Linked DNA regions of Homo sapiens: regions 1, 2, 3, 4 and 5 are each linked to region 6. Evidence: promoter capture Hi-C in 16 types of primary human blood cells and fetal thymus (Javierre and others, 2016). All regions are on one chromosome and are shown on one strand. Each heading gives the region's core, a stretch centred on a gene start or on the middle of the fragment in contact. The rest is flanking DNA. Distances are from core to core; before and after follow the strand shown. Region 1 has its middle 7.3 kb from the start of FAM200B. Region 2 overlaps TAPT1 (transmembrane anterior posterior transformation 1). Region 3 overlaps TAPT1-AS1 (TAPT1 antisense RNA 1). Region 4 overlaps LOC105374510 (a long non-coding RNA gene). Region 5 overlaps TAPT1 (transmembrane anterior posterior transformation 1). Region 6 holds the start of LAP3 (leucine aminopeptidase 3).

Region 1 (4,033 bases), core at 613-3,112, 1.9 Mb before region 6:
TATCTAAACATAGAAAAGTTATAGTAAAAATACAGTATGAAAGATAAAATGGTATACCTGTAAAGGGCACTTACCATGAATGGAGCTTGTAGGACTAGAAGTTGTTCTGGGTAAGTCAGTGAGTGGTGAGTGAAAGTGAAGGCCTAGGACATTATTATAACACTACTGTAGACTTTATAAACACTGCACACTTAGGCTTAAATACATTAAATTTATTTTTAAAATGTTTTTCTTCAACAGTAAATTTTTATTTTATAAACTTAAAAATTTTTTTAAATTAACTTTTTGACTCTCTTGTAATAACATTTAGCTTAAAATACATGTTGTACAGCTGTACAAAAATATTTTTTATATCCTTATTTTATAAACTTTATTTAAAAAATTTATTTTTACGAGACACAAATTAGCCTAGACTTACACAGGGTCACAATCAACAGTATCACTGTCTTCCACTTCCAGATTTTGTCACCCTGGAAGGTCTTCAAGGGCAATAACATGCACAAAGCTGTCATCTATGATAACAATGCCTTCGTCTGTAATACTTTGAAGGATCTGTCTGAAGTTGTTTTACGGTTAACTTTTGAAAATATACATAGGTAGAAAAAGTATACTCTAAAATAACAATAGGGCAGGTGCAATGGCTCACACCTGTAATAAGCACTTTGGGAGGCCGAGGTAGCTGGATCGCTTGAGCCCACAAGTTTGAAACCAGCCTGGACAACATGGCAAAATCCTGTCTCTACAAAAAATACAAAAAATTAGCCGGGTGTGTTGACCCGTGCCTGTAGTCCCAGCTACTTGGGAGGCTGAGGTGGGAGGATCACCAGAGCCCAGAAGGTCGAGGCTGCAGTGAGCCAAGATTGCACTACTCTACTCCACCCTGGGCAACAGAGTGAGACCTCATCTCAAAAAAAATAAAGATAAAATAAGGATAAATGTATCAGCAAGACAGTAGACCAGCATCACCACAGACACATAAGACATCATCATTGAGATCTATGACATCACTAGGTGGTAGGAATTTTCCAGCTCCATTATAATCTTATGAAGTCTATCATTGAACAAAATGTCTTTATGTGATCCAAGACTGTACTGTAATATTTTTGGATGATCCTTTCCTTGGCCTCAGGTCATTTCCTCACATGCATACAGTGATCAATACTTACCTGAAGAATCAGGAGAGATTCATTCCAGATCACTAGAATTCTCTCTCTATGCAGCTCTCTCCCTTCTAGCAAACTCTGGCTGCACTGGTTTCACCAGGCTCCAGGCTCTATCAACAGAGGGATTCCACTAGGCTGCATATGTTCCCCTCTCCCTGTACTATGGCTTAGAAATTCTCCCAAGGCAATAAACTGAGGCAATCATAGGACTCACTTTGTTTCCTATTGATCAAGGTTCACTGTCCTTCATTGCCTGATATCCAATATCTTGGAAAACATTGTTTTATATATTTTGTCCATTTTTTATTGTTTCTGGCCTGTATCAAACTTTTAACCATTACATGCCAGAACAAAAATTGATACATTCAAGGAAAAAACTGGATAGATTTGTTTTCCAACACTCTGAATCAAAAACTGAGTTATGCTTGGTGCCTGCAGAATAGGAAATATTGTAGCTTACTTCTCTGGAAATACTAAAGAATGATTATGAAATATCAAATGCATCGTGTTTTTTTTTTTTTTTTAATTCTCTAGCCCTATGTCATAATGATGTATCATTCTTTTGGAGGAAATAGGATTGTTCATTGCTAAGTGGCATGAATGTAGTACCGCTATTGGTACTTTTAATTCTTAACCCATAAAAACAAAGAAACAGAGTTAACACTGTACTGGGTATGTGAGAACTGCACTTGAGATCCCAAACTGAAATCAACTTATGAATACATAGCACACTCATCACTTTAAATAAAATGTCCCCCAATTTTTATTATATTGTATTTATTTGGGATTATTTCTCCATTTTACGTTTATATATTAGTGAAATTATATGTAATCATAACTTTTTTCCTTACAAAATTATTACTCATGAAACTTTCATTTTAATCATAAAACCTTCTTTTCTCCTTATCAACTCATTTCTATCATCTTAGAAGATTATCAACGTTATGGGATTTTTGGGTTTTTTTTTTTTTGAGACAGAGTCTCACTCTGTCGCCCAGGCTGGAGTGCAGTGACGCGATCTTGGCTCACTGCAAGCTCCGCCTCCCACGTTCACACTATTCTCCTGCCTCAGCCTCCCTAGTAGCTGGGACTACAGGCGCATGCCACCATGCCTGGCTAATTTTTTGTGTTTTTAGTAGAGACGGGGTTTCACCGTGTTAGCCAGGATGGTCTCGATCTCCTGACCTTGTGATCCGTCTGCCTCGGCCTCCCAAAGTGCTGGGATTACAGGCACGAGCCACCGCACCCAGTCGGTTATGGTTTTTAATGATAAATTAATTTGTCATATACCTACAATCATTGTTTGCACAAATTCCCATCAGTTCACTAGGAATCACGAAAAAAAAAGCAGTGGGCCTGCCACTACAAAACACTTTATGCATCAAAACAGATGAAGCAACTGTAAGGTATTTCTGTGATGTGTAACCAGGCTTGTAGAAGACTTTTCCACATCATTGATTTTTTATGTTAAGTCACATAATTTATAGAGGAAAGCTACCTCCCTCTAGTTTTCACTTCCTATATTTTGTTCCATAATTCATTTTCTTCAAATTAAGATTAATTTATACTTAACATTTATAAGACAAGTAGAAATTAATATGGGAAGCAAAATACTAGTATATAAAAATGAGGTGAATAAGTACCACAAATAAAAATTATTTAGGACTAAATGACCAACTACTACTATAGTATATAAAGATTTTCTTGCATTGTTCCTATCCTGGATTTACCAGCCTTCAGGCTTAGATCCTATCTAACCCCTCTAACTATTACTTTCAAATTCAAGTCTTAGCTACCACACAGGCAGTGCAAAAACAGAACCACTCAAGGAGTTGAACCTTCACTATGTCTTAACTTCTCGGTCACAAAACTCCTATTTTTTTTTTTTTTTTTTTTTTTTTTGAGGCAGAGTTTTGCTCTTGCTGCCCAAGTTGCAGTGCAATGGCGCCATCTCAGCTCACTGCAACCTCTGCCTCCCAGGTTCGAGCAATTCTCCTGCCTCAGCCTCCCAAGTAGCTGGTATTACTGGCACCTGACACCACACCCCATTAATTTTTTGTATTTTTAGTAGAAATGGGGTTTCACCATGTTAACCAAGCTGGTCTCGAACTCCTGACCTCAGATGATCCGCCTGCCTCGGCCTCCCAAAGTGCTGGGATTACAGGCATGAGCCACCGCGCCCAGCCAAAACTCCTGTTCTAGTTGAATACGCAGAAATGCTATTCTGACTACCTCAAACAGAATTCTTTCTGATCCACAGATATCAAAGATTTATGAGACAAAATTTTAAAAGGAGTGAGAGGTGAAAAAGAGCTCTACTTTTACTATTAAATTAGCTGTCTGACCTTTGGCAAATACTTAACTTTCTGGATCTTAGCTTCTCCATCTAAAACCAGAAAGGAGGTTAGAGGAGATATGACTACAGAGCAACCCAGCTTATGGAAATTATATATTATTGCTCTATAATCCTTAATCCATATATATTAGGACACTGTTTCAAAAATATTATTGAAGCCTTTCACCTCCTGATATGATGCAATAGGATGTTTATAAACTACCGCATAAAAAGCATAAGAAGTAGTCAAACCTGAACCTAATCAAGCATCTAAATTTTACCATTAGTTTACAGAAAATAAACATGATAGAATAGGTTGAAAGATTGTATGAGGATGGAAACAGCCAAATCCTGAATATGGGAAATTCAATCAGACAAATGACCTAATCTCTACAACAAATAAATGTCAACAACAAAAAAAAGGGAGACTCTGTTATATATTAAGAGAGACAAAGATATATCAATAAAATGAAATATGTGGACATAGTTTAGCTTCTAATTCAAAGAAACAAGTGTAAAAAACATTTTTTGGCAA
Region 2 (3,716 bases), core at 293-2,792, 1.4 Mb before region 6:
GAGCCCTGCCCACTCCTCCTCCCTCCTTATCTGTAAGTCCCTCAGGCCCCCCCAGGGAACTCTAGTCCTCTAGAAATGCAGGAATACAGTAATAGTTGAGCATATTTAATGATCCTTGCCAAAGGCAATCAAACCACTGCCATATTTGTTCTCTAATCTTTGCTTGCTCACCAGCTCTCTAAATCCCACCCTAATACAGAACTCCCTAAAACTTCAGCAAGTGACGCTTCACCAAGAACCTACATAAAGCAACATTTCTGAAACTGTCACTCTACATTTCGCTCTTTTTCTTCTATTAAACTGATAGACTATCAGAAATAGAACATCAGCCAAACCAGCTGGGTCCTTACTCCTCATTGCCTGCAGTACCTCTTGTTACTACAATGTACCAATAAATCCAGCCAACCAAACTCTTCTGATAGCCACTCCAACAGAAAGTATGATTCTAAGAAGACGACTGGACTATTACAAGATTTACGTTACTACAGAAGTATGAAAACATGTTTCAATATAGCTGAAGCTGAATTATTTCTTCTTTTCTTTTAGCAAGAAATTTTGGAATTGCTTAGACTCACCAACTCTAGCATCGCCTAGGGGAGAAGGGGCTGCTTTCCCAGCCTATTTTATTGGTCTTGATAGGATAAGGCACAGCCAAGGAATAAGACACGTGAAGATGTAGTGCTGCTGTTACTACACTCACCCTGTAATGTGATGCTTCCTGTGATAAAGATTAAACAAACCATCTTTTTCTTTGAAGAGACTGTCCTGTATGTTTATAAACATGTGGGCTTTCTGAGAAACTGAAACCTTTAAAAAGGCTGAAATTAAATAATTTATCATGCTGAATGGGGGAAAAAAAACCTGTTTCTAGTAAAAGAGAACTGAAGGGAACTAAAAGGGTACAGAAGTAGAGATTAATTCCTTACAAAAGTTATTTTGATGTAGCACACAATGATAATGATAGGCAGAAAAGTTCAGATTTTGATAGATCTATTAATATCCTATCACTGGGTCTTACACTAAAAAATGTAACTTTAAAGCTTCTTCCTGTAAGGAAATTTCTACTCCCCCAATAACATTATTTCAATTATTTAAAAAACTCAACTCTAGCTGTTGACCATTTTTTTGCATAATTAATACTTTGACATAACTTTCAAAATGATGTCTGGTAATGAAGAAAAAATAGTACCTTTTCCAATTCTCTTGGTATTCGCAAACAAGTGTATACTCTTTCTCTTCTTTCTGTATACTTGGCCTCATTATGTTCAAGGAAGTACCCTCTTGTTAGTTCAGCACTGAGGAACCTCAACAATGAAAGCTCTACAGAAAAGAAAATGACAGAAAACAAAAAGAACAGTATTTATCAAGGAACTTCCACGCTAGCTGGGGCCACAGGTAATATACATATAAAACAAAGAGACCAAAATAAATGTTATCTATAATTCTATGCCTAGAACTGCACACAATGATCAGCAAGTATTTTTGAGAAAAGTATTCTTCTTTGTGGTATAACCTGAAAATGCCACAGGAATATGGAAAGGAATAATTATTAAGGGCTAGAATAGTCAGAAAAGTATTTTTCAAGAGCTCAGTCTTGGTTCTTACAGGTGATACAGTACCTGGACTGACAGACATGGAAGGAAAATCAGTAGGTGTCAAGAATATATAAAATAGAGCAATATATAGAGTCAAAAGGGAGCAAAGTCACACAACGGGCACCACTTTAGTCCAAGAACCATCCTGGATGAACTACATGGATACTGGTGCCCCAGCTCCCTTCTTAGTTTAGCCTCAGAGATCCTGCACAAACATCTAAATAATGCCATTTCCCTACATGAAGACTTACCAACATGATACTCACAATAGTTATTACGCGAAGTGCAACCTCAACCGGATCAGAAAAACCTCCCTTTCCTTGGATCTTTCCATTCACCCGTGTTTTTCCTCTGTTCCTCTAAAGCAAATTACTCCATAGTTATCTCATCTCAGGTGAGAAAAACAAGGTCAAAGGAAGTTATTTATATACTTTCCACTCACTACAACTGGAAGCTTGAGGTGAGAAGCGAAGGCTCTGGATGCTCGACCCCACCTCTTCCCAGTGCATTACACTTCCCTGATAGCCCATCCCCTCAATGACCCTCAGCACCCCTTACTTCATCTACAGCTTCCTACTTTTACTCTGCAGGAGGTAAACTCTCTTCCAGAACGCAGGTTACCAAAAGGTTTCCAACTGTCCACTGTTCTCTTTGCTCTGAGCTGGCCTTGTGGTCCTTTCTACCAAATGTGGTCTTAATGTTCCCTCCAAAAAATGACAAGGGAGGAAGGTTGATTTCATTTATGCAGATCTACTTAAGGAGTTGCACCTTCTAGGAGTACTATGATCTAAAGCCTACATGTGAGGGGGGAAGCGTTTATAGTAAAAAATATCCTTGGCCAGGCACGGTGGCTCACGCCTGTAATCCCAACACTTTGGGAGGCCGAGGTGGGCAGATCACGAGGTCAGGAGTTCAAGACCAGCCTGGCCAACATAGTGAAACCTATCTACTAAAAGTACAAAAAAAAATTAGCCGGGCGTGCCGGTGGGCGCCTGTAGTCCCAGCTGCTTGGGAGGCTGAGGCAAGAGAATCGCTTGAACCCAGGAGGCAGAGGTTGCAGTAAGCCGAGATCACGCCACTGCACTCCAGCGTAGGTGACACAGCAGGACTGTGTCTCAAAACAACAACAACAAAATATATATATATATCTCCTTAAAAGCCCTTGGAAAGACTTAGAAGCCAACTTGACTATGGTTTTAAACAATAGGTCTACAACAGCTTACTTCCTCCAGCATTAAAACGGATTCCTGGTTCTTTGAGTATTATGTCAAGTGGCTTGCTTATGTTAGGGTTTATTCCATATATATGTGTATGTACACACATACACATACACACTTCTTTAAATACCAGATTCATAATCTGTCTGGGGAGTCAGTGTTACCATGAGAGATACCTGGAGTTGAAACAGAAGAAGAAAGCAGACTTCTTTCCACCTTTGCCAGCCTCACGCAACAGGAGGCGGAATCTATCTACATGTGTCGTACTTTCTCTTTTCAATACATTTACAGTTGAAGTCACATGGGTTAAGTGCACGCAATATGTAAACTCTATTGTATAAATTAACAGATGTTTGGATTTAAAGGACTTAGTCTAACCAAATCCACATAGAGTAGAACTTCTGGTTAGGAACTTTCTAATATGTTCTACGCTGGCTAGAACCAGAACAAGATCTGCTCTTTCAAGGTGAGAAAAAGAAAACCTTTTGAGTTGCAAACAAAAACAGCCAAGACTAATGAAAGATAAACAAATCATACTCAGTTCAGTCAGTTTTCCAATCAGGAAAAAAAGTATGTTTTGATTAGTTAGTATCTACAAGTATCAGTTCTTTCATGTAAAAATCGAGAAGCAACAGGACTTTCAGAAAGCAGAGGAGATTCCACATATATAATTTTTCACTGACCTTAGTGAACTCTGAATTTTGAACCCCAGAGGCCACTTCACCACACTCTCCGGACAGCAGCTTCCCTGTCCCTCCATGTCACCTAAACCTGATTCAGTGGTGCTCTTCTGTCTTGAATGGCTGATTTTTCTCATCTGAGTCTCTTTGGTAGCCCTTCCTCCTGTACCCGATCCTTAAGTGTTTGCTGGTTCAGTGCTCTATTCACTACAGTAACATGTCAG
Region 3 (4,060 bases), core at 1,185-3,684, 1.3 Mb before region 6:
CCTTAAGAGATATTTATGCAGCATAGAAGAACCAGCAGTTCTCAGAGGAAGATAAATAGTTAAAATATCATAATGCACTTTATATCAGTTGTAAAAAGAAAAATACAGGCTTAGATTTATGGTATTACCGTTAGAAAAACAATATGAGTATTTAAGAAACATAGCAACCCTAGCCATTAAATAGGCATCAAATAACATTCTGAATTAAGTTATAAGATAAAACCAAGATTTGGATGACAATGACAATATTGTCCATCATTGTTATCCAAATCCTGGTTTTATCTTATAACTGGTTTTAGGGGCAATTGTAGTGAATTGCCCCTAAAAGATGTTTGAAATTCGTTTCATACACTTTTCCTGAATCAACTTAAGTATTGATTTCACAAACAATAAGATGGTGTGCCGTAGCATGTCATCGCACTAGAAAGAAAAAAAGTACTCCACCAGTGGGAAATAATTTCAGCAGAGGAAAGTGATGAATATTGGATGTGTGTTTAGAAATCAGAGGTTGATAAAGTCTTAAGATTGCTATATGCACTATGAGGCTAATGTATTTTGAAAATTGCAAAACAATATTTTTTAAACAACAAAAATTTGGTGAGTAGCATACGCAGACTTCAAAAATAAATTGCGTAACTTCATATTTCAGTAATTAAAGATTTAACAATAGTGATTTTGTGGCTAAACAAAATATACTGAACCCATTATGTATAAACCATGGATTCAGAGCTCCAGAAAATTATCTTAATGAGGCATATAAACTCTTTTTGTTTAATGTCCACACCAAATCATTATGGTCTGCCATTTCATGAAATAACAAGTTTTAAAATAAGTGATGTTTTTTAGTTTGTATATCTATATTCTTTTCTACCAGGTATAGCACAGTGTAGTACAAGGGCCTACAGTTACAAGCCTTGGGAAAGATACTGTTTTGGCCACATATTTCAGCTATGTGACCCTGGAAAGAGGGTCTCAGAGGGCCACTGTGGCCCTCAGTGTCTTTTCATTGGTAAATTGGGGCAACATCTTTTGTATAATGAAAGCTGAAAAAAATAACGATTTTCCTTTTATTCTCCCTTCCTTTCATTTAGGCTGTAGTTTTCACTTTTTAACTACAAAGCAATTTATCTCTTGATAACACTTCTAGTGTATTGTCCCTAAAGTACTTTTGAAAGTAGTTCTGTACACTTTTCCTGAGTAATAAAAACATCACATATTTGCTAACTTGAAAGAATCCCGAGTCAGGAGATGGCCTGGATTCTCTCTGACCCTTCAACTAAAGTCTTTGACCAAAGGAGCACAGGTGACCCCTTTCTGCTTCATTTTCTGACCTGTAGAGTATTGGACTCAATGACCGATCCTCCCTTGTAGCTCCAAAATTCTGGGCTAAACTCCATGCACCTCCCTTCTGAGTTAAAAATAGTAGACAGGCCTGCATTATCAACATTTGTAGAAAAATATGAAATGCTTAGAGTCACTTTGTAATTGAGTCTAAGATTTGAATGCATAGAGTTCAAATGCAATACTTGTGTTGATAACACAACAAAGACATGTAAGTTTTTATGTACCTTTATGTTCTATGCATTAGTCCTTCATTCCTTGGCATGAGGAGAAGTGATGGTTTCTCAGTGACCTTCCAGAACTCTAAGGCTGTGTTTCTCACACCAGGCCTCAGGGTTTCTACATTTTGAACAAATTTCCAGTATTGTACCCATGCACACCTGAGTCTAAGAACTCTGCTGTAAGGTGACATTAAACAGCACCTGAAGTTATATTTGAGATGATTACTCAGTAATCAATGTACAGTTGATTTTCATAGTGTGGATTCAAGCACGGAATAGAGCACAGTTTTAATTAAATCTGTATTTCTCAGTTGAAACTTTATTTTAGCATTACATGACTTCTATTTCATGAATCATAAATGTCATGTTTCTTCACAAACTGTAGTTCTGAATTTAACTCATTCACCATTTTGTCGTCAAAAAGAAGAGTTGATGTTGTTGAAAGATCTAAACAGCTTTGCAGCTGATGTTCTAAAGAAATAAAATATACCACTGAACCCAGATCAAGCCTTTGCACTAAATTAATGTGAGTTTGAATTTCTGAGTTTCAGTAGTAATATTTTCTATCTTTGGCAATCATTTTTGGACTGACGCTCATTACGTTTTATTCTCTTTGGGCTTTATTCCATGGATTTGTAAAGGACACCAGTTCGCTTTATTTCTGGAAGATGTAACACAAATTAAGTAATGTGCCTTTGATTCCAATGTAACTGTTACACCTTAACTAAAACTGTCATGAGCAACATCATTTTTAAAAGCATTTCTTTGACGTGCAAATATATGACAGAAACCATTGTAAATAGGACTTTTTGAAAACAATACTTTGCTAAAAGGGGTGTTTTATGAAGGATATTATGTTCTGAAGACCTAAAGGTAGGTTCTGTTTATGTAATAAAAGTGTATGAACCTATATAATTTCATGGCTTATTGGCTTATAGGGCCTTTTATTCATGATCAGATATAAAATTTATTTTGTGCTGTACTTTAAATTTCTGGAAAATTTCAAAATACTGATGAAAGGGGCCCTGGTAATGACTCAGCAGACTTTCCATTCCAGATTTATCTCTAAGAAAAAAGAAGTGTTTCTCATTATCACGATGAAAATAAATAGAGGTTGTTTCAAACCGTATTAATCATTTAGTCGGTTAATTAACAAGAATCCTTTTGCAGAATAAATTCAGACCTTCTAGTAAATGTGTTGATAACTGTCAAAAATCCTTTTTTATAATTCTAGCTAGCAAAGGCTTTCATTTTGGAATTCAGGAAGCAGGGGAGATTTTATTTATCACCCAGTTCCTGTTGCTAGTCCTTTTGAATTTTGCCTTTCAGAGTTTTTTTTTTTTTTTCTTTTTGTTATTCCCCAGTGGCAAGTTATTTATTGCTTCGTTTGGCCACTCATCAAATAGTAGTTGGTAATCAGAAGATTTTACATGATATTCAGGATAATTTTTTGCTTTTTTCTAGTGTTTCTAGTTGAACTATGATGGATTAAGGTAACTGAGTAATTTTTCTCTTGACATCGATGCCCTTTAAGCTCTTTTGGGCTGTGATCCTGCTCTTGTAATTAGCTTTCATCCTGTTCATTAATCAGTGTTTCCATTCTGACAGTTTTTCCTTTTCTTTCTCCTCTTGTTTCTGAGATATTAAAAAGCGAAAGCAGTCTCTTACAAGGATCTATTGTTTGTTATCTTTTAGGCAAACCCAAGTATTTATCTCTCTCTTTTGCGTTCATACCAAAATTTATTGGAAATGCACGATAAATTTTCAGATTCTCAAAAATCTCAGGGTTTCTGCTTTCCAGGTTTTAGAAATTAGTTTATCTGATTTCAAGGCCTTAGATTTTCAAATTGCTCTTTTATATGCATCTATTCTATTCCGTTTTCTTTTCAGTTCTAAGCCTATGTTTATATGTAAAATGCTTCTCTTGTTTCTGACATTTTCCAATTTAGTATCAATTTCTAATAATGAACCACTGTTACCTGCTTGTCTTCCATGTGGATGCTTAATAAATACTATAACTTAGGTATACAGTTTCATGGAGGAGAATAGAAGAATGTGGTTAATTTTTTGAAATAGCAATAAAAAGAAAACATGTTGTGGCTTTAGCAAGCATTATTTTCTTGTGACAATTTTATCCTCCTAATTATACATTGCCTAAGCTGGTACTAACGTTAATTCATGTTCTCCTAAGCATATGCCCACTCTTGACAGATATACACTGGGGTTACAAATTTGGCGTGTATAATTTACACATAAATATTCAATTGCTAAGAAAACTGAGACTAAATCACATGCTGGTCATTATCATCTTTTAAATTACACTCTGACCTTTCATCCATCTACTTAGCAGTGTAATAACACAATTGTCTTAATATAAATAATTCATTTCTAGTGCTGCAACCCATTTTTAAATACTCAATTTTAATATTTATTATAGTTCTGATATTTATTATCTGACATGTTTGGCTAGATATTCTTTTTCTGAACAGTACTTAGTT
Region 4 (4,074 bases), core at 1,311-3,810, 1.0 Mb after region 6:
TCTTTGTCTCTGGAGTGGCTAGGGCAAGAGGGTTTCCCAATCAGTTGGGCCTAGAGTTGAATTTATGGAAATGGACGTTGATTCTAGCTGGGATGTGTAAGTGTGGAAATAGGCAGAAAGTCAAGGAAAGATTCCAGTTTGAGCAGCCACTTATACTAAATGAGTAACTGCTTCTTCTAAGTAGCCATGAATAGAATAATTTAGGGCAGATGAGTGGCTCCTCTGGAGGCCAGGATGGGCCACATCTTCGATATAAGACAGCTGTCTCTGGAAGAGAGAATATTTGACCAGTCAATTGGTGGTAGAAGTCACAGCCTGCTAGCAAGGAGAGGGTGGAAAGGAAGGATAATAATAAGGATAAAAACAAAGATTTGTTGAACGTTCATTGAATACATACCATGTGCCATTCACTGCATTAAACTGTAGCTTCAAGCACAAATGCCTTCTAGCTTGGGAGATGATTACTCTGAGAGGCAGGGGAAACTGGAACTAAATATGGGAATAGCAGCTTCACACCTCCCTTCTCACCGAGGCAAGCAACCAATTATTGAAAGTGGAATTTCACACACTGTTGAACTGTTATTTCTTCCCTTTCTTTCTTTTTATCTCTATCTCTGGACAAGAGCTTACAGTTGAATTCACATAAATTCGATGTGGGTGTTGGGTACTGTACTTGCATGATCTCATGTAACCTTTATAACAATCCAACAAGGCCCATAGGTAACAGCTATTATTTTTTCTTATGTTATATCTAGAGAAACTGAGGGTGGGGAGGTTGAGTGATTTTTCCAGAGCCATATGGAGCTAAGTGGGGTATCTGGCACTCAGGGCCAGGGAAGAGGGAATTAAATTTAACAGCAATGAAGGAACACAAGCTCTCATGTCCCTTTGCTCATCTCCAGGGTCATAATCCACTTTTAGAGTTTCATGACCTCCTGATGGGACTGTTGTAAAATCCACCAACTTATTTCACAGTCTAAACACTCTCACCCTTTCTTTCCCAACTCATCCTTTCCTATCCTGTTTATCTTCTGGATGAATCTGAGTTCACGCTGAATTTCTTGCGATCTAAAGCATGATAGTCCTTTCACTTCTCCTTGCCTTTGCATTTCCTATCTTCTTTGTCTAGGGTATATGTTCTCCTTCTGTCATTGACAAGAAAGCCCCTCATCTCTTAAAAATGGGCCAATGTCAAGTCCTTCAGGAAAAAGCATAGCATAATACTTAGAAGCAGTGACCCTGGCTCTGCCACTTAACATCTGTGGGAATTCTCTAAGCTTTTGTTAGTGTTTTCATCTCTAAAATGGAGCCAGCACTACCTATATCACGGGATTATTAAAATCATGAAAGATAAGGGCTTTGCATAGATCCTGAGACACAGTGAAAGCAGAATGAATGTTATTATTTTATGTAACTGCATGTATTATTTTCAGTTCTCCATGAAAACATCCATCATTCTTCAAGTATTATTAACCACCTTCTCAGATGGGTTGTAGAGTAGGTACTGTTCATATATACATAAACACACACACACACACACACACACACACTAGAATTTATTGTTATCTTTAATTATCTGCTTAAATATCTCTTCTTTTACCATCTTATCCTCTGTCCCCATATATATTTCCTGTAAATAATCGCACAGAAGTCTTCTGCCTCCAATACTGTGGAAATCTAGGCTATGGAAGTTGAGTCCAGGAAAATCCCTAGAAAGCAGATCCCAAGGATCTGTTTTGGGGATGAACTGCTTATGGTCTGTATGCAATATGGGACCCGTGGTGGTTGTAAACAATGGGATAATAACCCCTGGCATGTAGAGGCATTATAATGAATGGTGTTTTTACCTCTGATTAATTGCGATAATGTGAAAGAAGTAGGTGGGGCGTTATTTTGTGCAAAGGCTCTGCTGAATAAATAGTGTGGGGAAAATGATAATTGGGAGGATATTGGAGTGGGTTAACTGCATTGTAATACTTAGGAAAAGAAAATGATAGCATCAGAGCAGTAAACTGTGAACTCAAAGCATGCCATGAAGGTCAGAGGGGCTTTATGGCTGCTTTGGAGAGCAATGATTCCTTTTATGGTTAAGGTGCAGATTATGTAGAAAATCTGAGTGGCAGAACCACAGAGGAGACTGAATGCACAGCCACACTACTTAGGACCTTACAGAAAAAGAGTGGGAGCCTGAGAAATGGCTAGGGTATATTTGGGTGGATGAGCCTGAGAATCTTTTTTTTTTAAATTTTATTTTATTATTATTATACTTTAAGTTTTAGGGTACATGTGCACAACGTTCAGGTTTGTTACATATGTATACATGTGCCATGTTGGTTGGCTGCACCCATTATCTTGTCATTTAGCATTAGGTATATCTCCTAATGCTATCCCTCCCCCATCCCCCCACCCCACAACAGTCGCTGGTGTGTGATGTTCCCCTTCCTGTGTCCATGTGTTCTCATTGTTCAATTCCCACCTACGAGTGAGAACATGTGGTGTTTGGTTTTTTGTCCTTGCGATAGTTTGCTGGGAATGATGATTTCCAGCTTCATCCATGTCCCTAGAAAGGACATGAACTTATCATTTTTTAAGGCTGCATGGTATTCCATGGTGTATATGTGCCACATTTTCTTAATCCAGTCTATCATTGTTGGACATTTAGGTTGGTTCCAAGTCTTTGCTATTGTGAATAGTGCTGCTATAAACATAAGTGTGCATGTGTCTTTATAGCAGCATGATTTATAATCCTTTGGGTATATACCCAGTAATGGGATGACTGGGTCAAATGGTATTTCTAGTTCTAGATCCCTGAGGAATCGCCACACTGACTTCCACAATGGTTGAACTAGTTTACAGTCCCACCAACAGTGTAAAAGTGTTCCTATTTCTCCACATCCTCTGAACAGACAATTCTCAAAAGAAAACATTTATGCAGCCAAAAAACACATGAAAAAATGCTCATCATCACTGGCCATCAGAGAAATGCAAATCAAAACCACAATGAGATACCATCTCACACCAGTTAGAATGGTGATCATTAAAAAGTCAGGAGCCTGAGAATCTTAAATCTGCAAATTCCCTTGAATTTCCACTACCAGAAGACCCAGTCACCTTCCTCTTGCTGGAGGATAGCAGCCTCTTACGTGGTGACCATGTGAGGATCTACACTGAGACAGGGCCTCATAATGCTATTCTGTTCTCAAGATCTGCCTCCGCCACCCCTCAGTCCCTCCAGGCCAATATCTAGGGTCAGGACTTAGCAATATCTGAATGGAGAAGTACTATCTCAGCTCCAGGATAAAAGGGCTTACATCTCAAAGGATTGCAGAACTTGACTAATAGGCACTGGTGAGGACTGGGGGATCACTGTGGGAGTGAAATGTGAGGCTGTGGGGGACCAGGCAAAGTACACTACACTGTTAAATGGGGAAGGTTTTTATGTTTTGTTTTTTTGTTTTTGTTTTTGTTTTTGAGACGAGGTTTCACTCTCGTTGCCCAGGCTGGAGTGCAATGGTATGATCATAGCTCACTGCAACCTCCACCTCCTGGGTTCAAGCAATTCTCCTGCCTCAGCCTCCCGAGTAGCTGGGATTACAGGCATGCGCCACCACGCCCAGCTAATTTTGTATTTTTAGTAGAGACGGGGTTTCTCCATCTTGGTCAGGCTGGTCTTGCACTCCCAAGCTCAGGTGATCCACCCGCCTTGGCCTCCCAAAGTGCTTGGATTACAGGCATGAGCCACCGCACCTGGCCAATGGGGGAGATACTTGATGTTGAGGCACTCATCCATGATGCTAGATTCAAGTTCTGGAAAATATACCTGGAGTTTTCTGAACTGGCACCTGAAGCTTCAATATAAAGATGGACCAGAATGAATGCGGTGGAGATGCCAAAACCTCCTTGGAAGCGCATTGTGGAATGGGTCAGAACGCCTGGGTAGGTGAAGAAGTTCAAATGACTTTGCTCTGTAAGACTTTGCAAGCCTACCAGCTGTGGTACTGATATGCTAGGAGTCTTCCATTTGGAGTTGGAGCCAGTGGAGACAGGGCAATAAATGGAATTTGATCCTAAGTC
Region 5 (3,723 bases), core at 589-3,088, 1.4 Mb before region 6:
ACAGAATTCTTTTAAAAATTTCTAGTAAAACCACCCTTACAGAAACCAAATTAGCTAAATTTCCAAAATTTTACTTTTTATTCTTACAAACATTTCCATTTCCATTGTATTTCTGGTAACTGTACAATTTTACATTGTACAATTTACCAGTTAGAGCATCTCTAGTTGTTTCAAAGGGCTCATAGACTTACAGAAACTGAATTATACAGTAGAGAAAGACGATCAAGGGTAAGCTGTTTCCTTTTCCTCTTTAGGGGAAGATAATATGCTAACTATGATTAAAGTAACATCTAGTAGTGGACAGAAAGATCAAGAAGGAAGATGTGGCACCAAAAATGAGCGAGAAAAATGGGAGAATCCCTGCATAGTTATTTCAAATCAGTGTTGAAACATGCCAGAGTATTAGCATGAGTTATTTCATTACAAAATACATAGACTAGATCTCTCGCTCTCTCTCAATATTTTCAGCCATTTGTGGTATAATTGGAAGAGTGAAGAAACACAAGCACTACTGAAATAAAAATGCAAAATAATATGTTTTTATTTTTGAAAGTGAAATCCTTTTATAATTTAAGTAAACTGGAATAAAGTAGTGAAATCAAGATGTTTTCCTGAATTAGAAAATTAAGTATCTTAAATCTTCAGTTTGACTCATATGTAACAGAAAAATAAATACTTAAACGGAATGATTCAAACCATTTCTTAAACTTTAATTTCAAACTATACTGAAAAAAATAACTTATTTATAAAGCTATGTTCACAATTTTAGTAATGCAAAATAAAAACTGCTTATATGGAAGGAATTAAGCTCAGCCAATTTCTGTGGCTTTGGGGATGAAGTATTTGCTAAGTCTAAGCTAACATGTGTAAAGATGACTTTTGAGCGGATTTTCATGTTAGGTGAAATCACAGTCAAATCCTTCACAAAGAAATGTGGACAAAGCTTTAAGACCAAGTAAAGATGCTATTTTAAAAAGGACAGGGATCCACATTTTCTTCAGTATGTTTCTACCCCCTAATGGCTATGTCTGCCTATCCTGTTTACTTTTGCATTTAATGAATGTCAATTTGGCCAAGAGTATAGAAGGAAAAATCAGGGTTTACTCACCACAAGGAGTCCCTGTGCCACCACATTCCATTCTATAAAGGAAGTGAAAGTGCTCCTCCCTTCGGTCTGATTTACGAGAGAGAAAGAAAGAGAGAAGATTGTAATGTTGCTACGCTACTTAGAGCTCCATGGTGAGGAAACGGGACAATAAAACCTGGTGTTACGAAGACTTTCTAATAACAAATATATTGCTCTCAACAAATAAGCCACATAGATCAGCCCTGGTAAAAGGAAGTAAAAGGCATATTTGTTTCCCCAGAGAAAGTTACCAAGAGCTCTCCCTACTTGTGCTACAGTGGTGGCATCAATCACTTAGGCCAAAATCAAGGCTTAATTTTGTCTAAAAAGAGAAAAATCTATTATAACATATAGGTGAGGTTAATCTTGGGCAGAACTATTTCGAAAGAGGTAAGGCATACGAAGGAAACTCAAAAGGTTAGGAAACTCTCAAGCATCTGAAATTCATAATTCTGGGAGACAAGAGCTCTCCCATGGGATAAACTCTCAAAAGAAAATGATACTATTGCCTCTTCAACCAAGAAAAATAAAAGCCTGTGAAGCCTCATGTGAGAGTTATGCCTAAAGCCGGGCCAGGGGACAGAACATTTGCTCACACATATTTTAGTTGCTCTAATAGTAAAAAACAAAAACCAAAAAACACTCCGGCATTTATTACTTAAGCCTGTTCAACTCATGTATCACTTTCTAAAATGTTTCAGTAAAGTTTTTTCAACAATAACTCAATTCTTGGTACCAGGCTATATCATTTTTCTCTACAATCTTCTTTAACTTTTAACTTACGTGACTGAGAATTCTAAAGCACAAAACGAAGTCACAAATTTCAGGAGAATAGAGGGCTGACAAAAATGCCAGGTAAATCAAATGTACATAATTAGCTATTTTTCATTCAATTCTACAAGCAAATTTGGAAAAAGGATGTTTCGTACCTCTAACATAATATAGAGCAGTCTGCTTTTCTGAAAAACAAAAAATTCTATCATTCTTCCAAGGAATAGACACTTCATATAATAAATCAAAACTTAGTTCTGTTTTATATGTCATGAATCATTAAAAAGATTATCCTCGTTCAAGAAGTTTCTCAAATGATTTCTAAAATGACACTACTCTTATCTGGGAAAGAGGGAAGATATACATAAGTGAATCTGCTTTTAAAGAATTTAGATGCATTTTCTAATTTTTTTTTTAAGTCTACAACAAAATATTTGTGGGCAAAGATTTTTCAAGGTTGTTAATTCATCAGAAACTATTTCAGTGAAGTATTCTTGAGATCACTGAGGACAGACATTAACTTTTAGGGAGGGAGTGCATCCTTGGCAAACACCACACACAAATATGACTGCAGATAATTACCCTGCCAACATCTCATAATGAACAGTACTTAAACAACAGGGTCAAAGCCAGCAAAACACCCTGCTGGATGAGCCATCATGATGAAGGCTGGGTTTACTTAAGGCACTGTAGAACCACCCTTGTCCTCAGCCTTAGTGAAGGGACAGGGTCTTTATTTTACTTAAGTCAAAAACCATGGCAAGTTTGCAGAAGAACTAGAAATAGGTTCAAATATTAAGTTATGAAGCAGAGAACACGGGGGTCTATGTGCTTTAAAAAGCTTCTCACAAATGCTGTACAAGATGTAAATCTGCAAACAGATGAGGTGAGAACACTGATCTCAAATATAAAAAGAAGGCAATAATTTACATTATTGATGTGATACTGAACCAAACAGTTCTAGAGTCTGCAAAGAGTTACTGTTTTCACGTCAGCATTGTGATTAATTTGACAAATGGACTGTTTCCTCCCTTTTGTGAAAACAATTTCAAAGAACAAAGAGACTAGGAAGACAGTAAGTTTTTACAGAAAGAAGATTGAAATACAGGAGAGTGAAAAAAAAAAATTATTTAAAAAATTGCAATCAACTTCTTTGCCAGTCTATTTCACTTCTTCTTATTTCTTTGAAAAAAATAAAGTCAGACTGAAGGAAAGAGCACTTTTTGCTTGCTGAAAAGGATGGAACATGACATCACTACAGGCAAGACAAATCGAATAATCTTTAATGGAAGTAGAAAACACAGGAATAAAAGCTATCAGAAGGCAAAATCTGGCTATTTCTAAATAATCATTTGGTAAACCTAAAAAGTATTTTTATATTCCAAAATATTTGAAAGGTCTTAGACTTAATATTAACAATAGCTTTGTTTATGTAACTTTTACCTTATCAAATATTTCAAGTTTCGTGACTTTAAAAATAATGCTCAAAGAGATATTTTCTAAATTGCTCAAAGAAACAAAAATTGCAGCCTATATTACTGTAAGCACAAATTACTCAATTTTGATAAACCATACTTAAGGCACTAAGACATTAGGCAGGATTTTCATATTCTGTGTAACCTGGCCTATCCTCAAAGCATTTATAATTGCCTGAACTCCGTTTCATTTAAAATTTAAATGAAAATTTAAGTTTCATTTAAACTCCTATCATTTAAAATTGCTGAAACAGTTATATAATTTTAACTGCATTTCATGTTTTTATACATATAAGTATTTATTAGTGATAGCATGAAATTAATTTTTCAGTTAATCCAAAGCAGAAATAG
Region 6 (3,906 bases), core at 1,407-3,906:
GTTTTCGCATTCCATTTTTTAGTTTCAGAAACTGCGGCCTGATCTATCACGTTGGAAGGAGGGAAGAGCTGTAAAGTGAATGTAAAGATTTCGCTGTCTTTGGAGCAAATATAGATAAAATTTGGTGAGTTTATTGAGTTTATGATGCAACTCCATTTTAACTATCTAGAGAAGGTGGAAGCCAGAGTGGACCTACCAGTCCAACCCACTCAGCCTTCAAGAGAGGAAGATCAAATCTCTCCTCTGGAGTGTCTAGCTCTTGGAGAGTGAAATAGACATTCTTTCTTTCCTGCAACTGAGCTCAAGGTGAAGACTTTGCTCACTGCAGCTGGTGTAAGCCTCCCCACACCCCTGCACCTCAGCTAAAATTGCAATCAGATCAACAGTGGTGTAATTTTTTTAAAAAGAGATGGGGTCTTGCTCTGTGACCTAAGCTGGAGTGTAGTAGTACAATTATGGCTCACTGCAGACTCAACCTCCCAGGCTCAAGCAAACCTCCTACCTCAGTCTCCCCATTAGCGGGACTACAGGCACACATCTGGCTAATTTTTTAACTTTTTGTAGAGATGGGTATCTCACTACCTTGCCCAGGGTGGTCTTGAACTCCTGGGCTGAGTCGATCCTCCCACCTCGGCCTCCCAAAGTCCTGGGATTATAAGCATGAGTCACTGCACCCAGCTGGCTGGTGTCATTATTAAGAACAATTTTTGTATCCCTCCTCGTGCTTACCCATATTCTCCGAGTTGCATTCAGCTGTGTACTTTTTTACAATGAGAAATTTAAAACCAGCCGGGCGCGGTGGTTCACGCCCGTAATCCCAGCAATTTGGGAGGCCAGGGCGGGTGGATCACTTGAGGTCAGTACTTCAAGACCCACCTGGCCAACATGGTGAAACTCCATCTCTACTGAAAATACAAAAATTAGCCAGGCGTGTTGGCGGGCGCCTGTAATCCCAACTACTTGGGAGGCTGAGGCAGGAGAATCGCTGGAACCCAGGGGTGGAGGTTGCAATAAGCTGAGATCACACCAGTGCACTCCAGCCTGGGTGACAGAGCAAGACTCCGTTAAAAAAAAAAAAGTAAAAAATAAGGAATTAAAAAAAACAAAACGCTTTACAGAAAATAAAAATATATAAAAATATTGAGCACTACTTGAAAACTTTCTATTGAAACCATCCCCACTGTGTTGACAAAAATTTCATGCCAAGTTCTAGGCAGAAATATAGTTATAATTAAGCATTAATCAGGCTGTACTTTGGCCCACTTCCTTGTTGCTAAAAGTCACCTAGCACTACATACTGACCATTTGCATTCCCATTGTTCCTATAGACAGGATCTCTGACATTAGAATCATAAGCTTTCTGTTTAAGGATCGCTTAAGATATTTTTCAGACCTTGAATTCCAGCTACCAGTTTGAAGATCCCCAGAGAGGAATGGGGTCAGCTTAAGAATACAGGTTCTTCAACGCCCTGTCCCATGACTTCACCCTGCACTCTTCAATCAACGATCTCCACACTATAGCCCTCTCCAAAACCCTTAAAAACCTTGACCCCAAATTCCTCAGGGAGATGGATTTGAGGTTTCCTCCCATCTCCTCCTTTGGCGACTCCACGATTACACCTCTTTCTCTGCTGCAACCCTGGTGTCTGGGCGTATTGACTTGCTATGTGCACGAGTCAACGAACCTAATAGTGTTACATCATTTTCAAAAACAGTATTTACACCGTTGCACCTGTGGAACAGATGAAAGGACACGAATAAAAATAACTCAGGCCAGGTGCGGTGGCTCACGCCTGTAATCCCAGCACTTAGCGAGGCCGAGGCAAGTGGATCACGAGGTCAGGACTTCGAGACCAGCCTGGACAACATGGTGAAACCTCGTCTCTACTAAAAATACAAAGAGTTGCCGGGCACGGTGGCTCACGCCTGTAAGTAATCCCAGCACTTTGGCAGGCTGAGGCGGGTGTATCACCAGAGGTCAGGAGTTCAAAGCCAGCCTGGCTAACATGGCCAAACACTGTCTCTACTAAAAATACAAAGATTAGCCAGGTGTGGTGGTGGGCGCCTGTAGTCCCAACTACTCGGGAGGCTGAGGCAGGAGAATCTGTTGAACCCGAAAGGCGGAGGTTGCAGTGAGCCGAGATTGCGCCACTGCACTCCAGCCAGGGCTACAAGAGCGAGACTCCGCCTCAAAAAAAAAATCCAAAAAAACAACAAAAAAACACAAAGATTAGCTGGGCGTGGTGGCGGGCGCCCCTAATCCCAGCTACTCGGGAGGACGAGGCAGGAGAATCGTTTCAACTAAGCAGCGGGAGGTTGCAGTGAGCCGAGATCGCTCCATTGCACTCCAACCTGGGTGACAGAGCGAGACTCCGACTCAAAAAAACCAAACAAACAAACGAAAACTCAGTGGGAGTGTCTTCACTATGCAGTCGTCTATTCAGCAACCTTGACAACAAGCTCTGGCACTCAGTTTCTATTTCCCGGGAGTTGCCCAGCGCTCCGCCCACGCCCGCTTGCAGAACTCGCCCCGCCTCCGCCCCACCCATCGTGTGACGTCACCATATCGGTCCCGCCCCTCTACTTCGCGTTGCTCCCGGGACTGTCAACCGCGTCCGGAAGCCCCGCCTTTTCGCCCCCGCCCGCATGCGCGGGCGCACACGAATGCGGGCGCACACGAATGCGGGCGCACACGAATGCGGGCGCACCCTTGAGTCCCCTCCACAACCGCGGTTTGATCCCAGCGGTCCAGTCGGCCGGTGCTGCCCATCCGTCCCGCCCCCTAGACGCACGTCCGCTCGCCCGGCGCCCGAGCCAGTCCGCGCGCACGCCGTCTGCGCCCCGAAAGCCCCGCCCCAAGGCGCGCCCGCCCACCGCTCTCCACGTGCTCGCTGGAGGGCGGTGCGAGGGGCCGAGCCGACAAGATGTTCTTGCTGCCTCTTCCGGCTGCGGGGCGAGTAGTCGTCCGACGTCTGGCCGTGAGACGTTTCGGGAGCCGGAGTCTCTCCACCGCAGACATGACGAAGGTGAGAGGCGGCGGCTCGCTCATGGTCCGCCGCTGGGGCCCTGCCCGTGGGCTACTGGGGCTGCGGGGCTGGTCGAAGCCGCGGTGTCCTGGGCGCCCAAGCCAAGTTGCAAAAATCAGTTTAAAAGAAAAATTCTCTCCTTGCGGGGATCGGCCTAGGCCGCTGAGGACCCCAGCGGTCGTATTGAGGGCGCGATTCCCCTGCTCGGGGCTAGGGGGTGATGGTTGTAGCCGCCCTTTACCCGGCTCCACTCGGCCGCGCACTTGCTCCAGTCGTCACCCGCGGTCCTGGCAGTAACCCGGGGAAAGACGCGGCGGTGGGGCTCCCATCCGAGCTTGGAGGAAGCCCGAGTTTGCCAAGGTGAAAGGGTTTCTGAGGTCCCAGAGTCACAGGGCTCCTTCCCCCGCGGAAGTGAAAGGTCAGGGAGTTAAGTAGCTTGGAAGGGTTTCTAGAGGAAAAGCATGCCTCTCTAGAGAAAAGGGCTTTGGGGAGAGACCCACGTTTCCCAGAATTAAGAGCATCTTCCAGAAGAAAAGTGAACTCCAAAAAATTACGAAGGTCGCTCTTCAGATGTGAAGGATCTGCAAAGGGAATGGCTCTCGGAACCAGCACAAGCTTGGGAGTCATGCCTAAGCACCAGAAAGAGATGACTGTCCCTGCAGAAGAACGTTCTAGGGGGAGCTTGAGCTCCAGTCTCCTGCAGGTATCTCAGTGGTGGAGGGACCAGTCGCCTGACCAGTGCTATCTCCAGTACTGTGCCACAGCCTACCCAGATAACAGTTGCTCAGTTGGCTCCATTGATTCCCGGGGAGTGAACAATCTTAGGGAAGTTAGAACCTGGCAGAGTTACCAATGCCAAGGAAGGCCGTTTTCTTTGGTG

The links. Contacts are between HindIII fragments. The CHiCAGO score rates a contact against its expected background, and 5 or more counts as called.
Region 1: a fragment that was not itself captured here is called in contact with the fragment with the promoter of LAP3 in region 6 in 1 of 17 cell types (total CD4 T cells); the score reaches 5.7 in total CD4 T cells.
Region 2: a fragment that was not itself captured here is called in contact with the fragment with the promoter of LAP3 in region 6 in 6 of 17 cell types (non-activated CD4 T cells, naive CD8 T cells, M0 macrophages and 3 more); the score reaches 6.3 in non-activated CD4 T cells.
Region 3: a fragment that was not itself captured here is called in contact with the fragment with the promoter of LAP3 in region 6 in 2 of 17 cell types (total CD4 T cells and total CD8 T cells); the score reaches 6.4 in total CD4 T cells.
Region 4: a contact is called between a fragment that was not itself captured here and the fragment with the promoter of LAP3 in region 6, in 1 of 17 cell types (total CD4 T cells). The highest score is 5.6, in total CD4 T cells.
Region 5: a fragment that was not itself captured here is called in contact with the fragment with the promoter of LAP3 in region 6 in 1 of 17 cell types (total CD4 T cells); the score reaches 5.2 in total CD4 T cells.

Annotation. Positions count from the first base shown.
Region 1 is chr4:15,672,534-15,676,566 of GRCh38, forward strand. It overlaps a transcript of FBXL5 not described here and a transcript of FAM200B not described here. Among named protein-coding and RNA genes, the nearest start is that of FAM200B, 7.3 kb to the right of the region's middle. The HindIII fragment of the contact is 8,677 bases long and covers 1-4,033 here.
Region 2 is chr4:16,212,579-16,216,294 of GRCh38, forward strand. TAPT1 (transmembrane anterior posterior transformation 1) reads right to left here. Exons shown (of 14, transcript NM_153365.3): 2 at 1,190-1,320. Among named protein-coding and RNA genes, the nearest start is that of TAPT1, 12 kb to the right of the region's middle. The HindIII fragment of the contact is 1,009 bases long and covers 1,039-2,047 here.
Region 3 is chr4:16,229,172-16,233,231 of GRCh38, forward strand. The region is part of intron 1 of TAPT1-AS1 (TAPT1 antisense RNA 1); the gene reads left to right. Among named protein-coding and RNA genes, the nearest start is that of TAPT1-AS1, 4.5 kb to the left of the region's middle. The HindIII fragment of the contact is 8,035 bases long and covers 1-4,060 here.
Region 4 is chr4:18,586,938-18,591,011 of GRCh38, forward strand. The region is part of intron 1 of LOC105374510 (a long non-coding RNA gene); the gene reads left to right. Among named protein-coding and RNA genes, the nearest start is that of LCORL, 570 kb to the left of the region's middle. The HindIII fragment of the contact is 2,571 bases long and covers 1,276-3,846 here.
Region 5 is chr4:16,195,550-16,199,272 of GRCh38, forward strand. The region is part of intron 3 of TAPT1 (transmembrane anterior posterior transformation 1); the gene reads right to left. Among named protein-coding and RNA genes, the nearest start is that of TAPT1, 29 kb to the right of the region's middle. The HindIII fragment of the contact is 1,795 bases long and covers 942-2,736 here.
Region 6 is chr4:17,574,542-17,578,447 of GRCh38, forward strand. It overlaps LAP3 (leucine aminopeptidase 3), which reads left to right and starts at 2,657. Exons shown (of 13, transcript NM_015907.3): 1 at 2,657-3,026. The coding sequence starts at 2,925. RefSeq lists enhancers at 2,305-2,664, 3,005-3,204 and a silencer at 2,725-2,934. The HindIII fragment of the contact is 2,285 bases long and covers 1,355-3,639 here.